Regions from separate parts of the Homo sapiens genome. Here region 1 is linked to region 2. The links are contacts of gene promoters, found by promoter capture Hi-C in blood cells and fetal thymus (Javierre and others, 2016). All regions are on one chromosome and are shown on one strand. The core of a region is centred on a gene start or on the middle of the fragment in contact, and the rest is flanking DNA. Distances in the headings are between cores, read along the strand shown. Region 1 overlaps APOD (apolipoprotein D). Region 2 holds the start of GP5 (glycoprotein V platelet).

Evidence for each region. Contacts are between HindIII fragments. The CHiCAGO score rates a contact against its expected background, and 5 or more counts as called.
Region 1: a contact is called between a fragment that was not itself captured here and the fragment with the promoter of GP5 in region 2, in 1 of 17 cell types (neutrophils). The highest score is 5.4, in neutrophils.

The regions. Positions count from the first base shown.
Region 1 is chr3:195,578,923-195,582,039 of GRCh38, forward strand. It overlaps APOD (apolipoprotein D), which reads right to left. Exons shown (of 5, transcript NM_001647.4): 2 at 417-573. The coding sequence starts at 539. Among named protein-coding and RNA genes, the nearest start is that of APOD, 3.5 kb to the right of the region's middle. The HindIII fragment of the contact is 5,498 bases long and covers 1-3,117 here.
Region 2 is chr3:194,397,783-194,400,693 of GRCh38, forward strand. GP5 (glycoprotein V platelet) reads right to left here and starts at 1,484. Exons shown (of 2, transcript NM_004488.2): 1 at 1,456-1,484; 2 at 1-502. The coding sequence starts at 500. RefSeq lists enhancers at 2,314-2,867, 2,868-2,911. The HindIII fragment of the contact is 7,722 bases long and covers 1-2,911 here.

The DNA of each region.
Region 1 (3,117 bases), core at 139-2,638, 1.2 Mb after region 2:
CTGAGACCCTGTGTCTCTCCTCTGCCAGGGGGCTCAGCTAGAGCCACGGATGCTCCCATGACCTGCTGGCAGCAGCTGTGGGACAATCGGAGGGGCATGCTCCACGTGTCCTCAGAGGGTGCCCAGTGTGACTGACCCTGACGGCCCAGGGCGACAGCTCAGGAACGCACCCTTTATTGCTTCTGTGCTGTCTCCGACTCACCTTCCCACCTGCTCTCGTGCGTCCCGGGATCATCCCAAACCTCTCTGCCTGCAGTCTTTATCTCAGCAGATGTCTGCTTTGGGGAAACCCCAAATAAGATAAATACTTGTCCCAAGGTGTGCAGTGGAAATTAAAGCAGCATAATTACATTGAACCTTGTAGAACGCTTATTCACAGCGGAGGCAGCAAAACAAACGGGAGGTTCGCCTTTTACCTTATTCACGTCAAAATTCTCCTGCACCGGAGGATTGGGGCACTTCCCAAGATGAAATGCTTGTCCCTCTGCCGCACCGAAGAGGCCAGCCAGTGCGGAAAGCAGCAGCAGCAGCATCACCATCTTGGGGCTGGGTGGCTGGAGAAGGGACCTGGAGCTGCGGGAACGCAAAGCAGCTGGGGTTGTCATTCTGAGCCTTCTAAGGCCACACAATCATGAAGTAAGAGTGCTGTGCCCATGGTCCCCTCTGTGGGCGGTCCCTCCTCTTCTCTCCCCAGCCCATGTGAACCCTCATCCTGCAGGGGAACACCTGCCTGTCCTTGTTGCTGTGAGGCCTTCCTCAGAGCCTCTGCACCTCCACGAGGGCGCTCTCTGCCTGGTATTCTGGTTTGTTGGATTGATTTTCACCCCTGTCCCACCTAATTATGCATCTCCCAGGATGGGCACTGTGTCTAGTTCTCCTCAGAATCACCCACGGACCTCAAAGTGTCGGCTCAGTAGATACTTGTCAAATGAACAGAAACAGCGTGGAGAGGGCTATGTAAAGTGGGGGATTAAAGCCTCCAAGTGAACCACGAAAGACACGAAACCAAACCAAATGTTGCCCAACACTTAGTGTCCTCTGAGATTCTTCAGGGAGATGCCTCTCTGACACCATCCCTCCCCCTGCCCTCGTCTTGCTGGCTGTTCTACCAGCCCAAGAGTGCGCTTGGAAACCTTAACAGGGAGCGGCCTGCTGGGGGCTCCAGGGTCACCCCAGCCAGGTTCAAATTGTGACTCTGCCCCATACTAAGTATAACTGTGTCCAATTTATGCCTTAGCTTCTTTGTCTAGTAAATGGGAATAATTATCATTCCTAGCTCATGAATTTTTGTGAGAATTAAATGAGATAATATACAGAGAGTACTTAGAGGAGTGTCTGATACAGAGTAAATGCTCAATAAATGCTAGTTATTGTTATTATCAAAAGCAGAAAGATGATGGTATTTCCCAGGTTTCTTCTTTCTTTTCTTTTCTTCTTTCTTTCTTCTTTTTTTTTTTTTGACATTCTGTTGAGGGTTTTTGTTTTGTTTTGTTTTGTTTTGAGATGGAGTCTCACTCTGTCACCCAGGCTGGAGTGCAGTGGCACAATCTCGGCTCACTGCAACCTCTGTCTCCCGGGTTCAAGTGATTCTCCTGCCTCAGACTCCTGAGTAGCTGGGATTACAGGTGTCCACCACAACTCCCGGCTAATTTTGGTATTTTTAGTAGAGACAGGGTTTCACCATGTTGGCCATGCTGGTCTCAAACTCCTGACCTCAGGGGATCCACCCGCCTTGGCCTCCCAAAGTGCTGGGATTACAGGCCTGAGCCACCGCACCCGGCCTGTTGAGGGTATTTTTCATAGATGAAGTTCATTAAATCAGAGAAGGACTGTCAGCTGATGTGTAACTGTGCAACAAGCATTTCAACCCCAAGAGTCCTTTGGCAGCAGAAGCTGGCTTTGAAGCGGGGCAGCAAGGCAGGGAGACAGAGGCTGCAGGACTGTGTGCAGGTTCTGGGCATTGGAAGCTCCCCTGTTTCCTTCACTGACTCGCTGTCAATTTGCTCCTTTCCTTGTGACTCCTTGCCTGTAGCTTGCACACGAGCTATTTCCAGCTCTCTGCATTTCTCCCTGTAATGATGATGACTGATGCAATGCAAGCAAAATGTTCTCAGATCTGAGCATTTCGAAGGATGTGTCATTACAGGAATAATTATAACTGCTTTATTGTGAGTCTCTAAACCTCTAAATACCCTTTAATAATCAATAGCTTTTTTTCCCCTGGAGGTTTTGTTGCCTGGTTTTCCAAAGAACAGTTATGTAAGGAGTGGCAGCTTGCCAGCTGGGGTTGCTGCAGGGGGAGATGGTTGCTGAGGCCCCTTTGAGCAAGTCTGCCACAGGGCCACTTTCCCTGGTCTCTGAGGTTCCGTTTCTCATCGGCTCCACCACTGTATAAACAAAACCTGTCTTTTAACCTTTTGGGGGATGATGAATTTATAGAAATGCAGCCTAAACCCACACAAATTTGCATCCATTTTAAAGAGATCTTGAATTCTACTTAGTAGGCCCAAGCTGAAAGCCTGGCCCAGAGGATCAAACCTCAAAGACTGGCCACACACTATGCACATTCCACAAGGTCCCCACACTGGATAGGACCTTAGAGGTCATCTTTCTAGCTCTACTTCCAAGGTGTACAGATGGGGAAGCTGGGGCCTGGAAGGGGCAGAGAGCTGGGACTCGAGCTCCATCTCCCCCTCTCCTGTCTGCAGCACCCCGAATCTGCTTCTTCTGTGCACCGCCATAGGGCCTTTCAATAACCCCCCACCTCTGTGACCTGATGAGTCTCACCACCACATGACACTGCAACAAAAGTCAGTTCTACATCTTACTCTGACAAAATGCTCTCTTGTGAGCTGAAACAGATTCTTTACCTCAGTAGGAGGATTTCAGAACAACCCCTTTGACTGACCCTCTTCCAAAGATGCCTCTTGGTTACATTAGTTTTATTCCTGTGGTTAAAACTCCTTGTGATGCCAGGTGCGGTGGCTCAAGCCTGTAATCCCATGGGAGGCCGAGGCAGGTGGAGCACCTGAGGTTGGGAGTTCAAGACCAGCCTGACCAACATGGAGAAACCCTATCTCTACTAAAAATAAAAAAATTAGCTGGGCATGGTGGTGC
Region 2 (2,911 bases), core at 234-2,733:
GTGAAGAGACTGGCAGGAAGGAAATCGAGCTGATTCTGGTTCAGAGCGAGCTCCTGCAGGTTAACCAGTTTCTGAAACATGTTTTGGTCAATGCCCCTTAGCGCATTGTGGTCCAAAAACAACTGCTCCAGGAGCACCATCTTATCCAGCAGCGCACCTGGAAGATGCGTGATTTTGTTGCGCGACAGCCTCAGGGTTTTCAGTTTTATCAGGTCACTGAAGGTGCCGGGGGCAACGGCGGAAATGTGGCTGTCGGAGATCATGAGGCGCTGCAGGACGGTCATGCCGCTGAAGCTCTGGCTCTGCAGGACGCCGCGGCCCATTCCGAAGAGCAGGATGTGCGTGAGGTTGGTGGGCAGGCCTAGCGCGGAGATGCGCGCCACGTCGCCCCCCGAGCACTGCGCGGCGTCCCGGAAGACACACTTGCAAGCTGGCGGACAGGGGAAGGGCTGGGCGCGCAGAAGCCCGAGCACCGCGCACAGTAGAGTCCCCCTCAGCATGTCTGAAAAAGCAACCGTGGGAGTGTGGTCAACACACAGGAGCGTTCGCGCCTGTACTGAACCCTGGGATCCTGCACTTTGTGCAGAGGCACAATCCTTTCGCCAGAATTCTCACTCCCTCTTTTCTTAGGACTACAGATTTCCCTACGTGGTGAAAAGACACTCATTCTACACTGCGTGGCCTCATGCTTTTGCTTTATTGATTTTCCACTCTCAGTTTAAAGCATTGAGATTACAGAGTTTTCAAGCTACCGAATAGCCAATACTTTAAAGTCCTTACATAGAGAATTAAAATAATCATTCTCACATTCAAGCTCACAGACATCACAAAGCAATGTCCATTGTGAAAACGGCTCTGCTCTTGACTTTATAACTTACCCTGCATTGGCTATAACCAACAGTCAAGAAGGGAACAGCAAAGTCTGCAGCCACCACCATCTGATTCTTTTGCTCACAATCATGCTATTTCCACAGTACCAAGTTACTCTATTAAAGGACACCCCCAAAACAGCGAACACCTTCAATCAACAGCCAACAAAAGCATATAATAATACCTATCACTTTACGCCATGCATTGTTCTCAGCTCTTTATTTATACTACATGCATTTAATCCTTACAATAACCTTAGGAGGTAAGTATATTATCCCCGATTCAAGGATGAAGGCACAGAGGCACAGAAAGGCTCAACAGTATAACTAGGGTCACATAGAATTTGAGGGTAGTATTTCTGACTTAGCCATAAAGAGCTACTATTTCTAAGATGCTTAACTAAAGGTAATACTCACGGCACTGAATTTTCTGGGAAATGCACACCATACTACTAACCTGCCAAAACAATGTTTCCTAAGCGAAATTTTACATAAATTGCTTCTCGTGCAATTTTACTTCTCATGCACACACAGACTAAAGAGCCCTCTAATTTCCTATACTAATGTTTAAAATATTTGGCCTTACCTGAAATGGTTCTGCACTCCAAAGTAACTGAAAGACTTAGAGCTCTGCATGTGATTCGACACTTTCCACAGGAAGAGGGTGGTATCCTTGCATCCTGAGGATAAAGACTTTACCAGAGTAGGTCAGGAAAGGACCCTATCTCAGAGCCCTTGTTCTGGTTTTTAATGACAAATATCTTCAAACCGAGAGACCATATATAACCTGATTCCTACTGTCAAAGCCAAGAGCAGTGGGGAGAGTTTTTCCATAAATGGCACAATATAACTCTATGATGCCAGGGAAGTTCAGTGATACAGCTGGATCACTGCAGTAGCCACACCCCTAGATGGGCCACACTTCCCCTGGGTCTTCCTTTTCATGCCACATGGCCCTAATTTCCCACCCAGGTTTTTTTTTTTTTTTTTTTTTTTTTTTTTTTTTTTTTTGGTATGTGTTGTTTTTCTTTCTCCGCTTAGCAATAAAGCTAAGAACATTCTCAAATCCTCCATTTTTTTCTTCCTTTTGGGACTAATAAGGCTAAGAACATCTTTGAACTTGTTCAACAATGGCATTGCTAGGTTGCAGGATGCTCACTTGTTGTTTTTTTGGTGGGGGAGGGGGACTCTGTCGCCCAGGCTGGGGTGCAGTGGTGCGATCTCGGCTCACTGCAACCTCCTGCTCCCTGGTTCAAGCAATTCTCCTGCCTCGGCCTCACAAGTAGCTGGGATTACAGGCACACACCATCACGCCCAGCTAATTTTTTGTATTTTAGTAGAGACGGGGTTTTACCGTGTTGCCCTGGCTGGTCTTGAACTCCTGAGCTCAGGCAATCCGCCCGCCTCGGCCTCCCAAACTGCTGGGATTACAGGCATGAGCCACCACGCCCGGCCGCTCACATGTTCAGTTTAACTGGGGAAAGTCAAACTGCTCTCCAAAGTGGTTGTGTTGGTCTACGATGACACCTGCCATTTGTGAGAGTTCCTGTGCTTCCTCTCTGCCCACACGTGGCACTTCCTGCTTTTTGCCATTTCTATGAAAGATATCTCAGCATGATTTTAACTTTTCCTTTCCCTGTTTAATGATGAACTTGAACACCTTTTCACATAATTAAGGCCCACTTGTGCTTCATTTGAGAAAGCTGGGTTTCCTTTTGCCCATTTGTCTATAGGCAAAACGTGTCTACGTGTCTTTTGAACACACTGATAATGCTGTCTGCATTAAGACTTCCGGCCAGCCGCCCTGTCCGGGAGGGAGGTGGGGGGGTCAGCCCCCCGCCCGGCCGGCCGCCCCATCCGGGAGGTGAGGGGCGCCTCTGCCCGGCCGCCCCTACTGGGAAGTGAGGACCCCTCTGCCCGGCCAGCCGCCCCATCCGGGAGGTGGGGGGCGCTTCTGCCCGGCCGCCCCTACTGGGAAGTGAGGAGCCCCTCTGCCCGGCCACGACCCCGTCTGGGAGGTGTGCCTAGCGGCTCATTGGGGA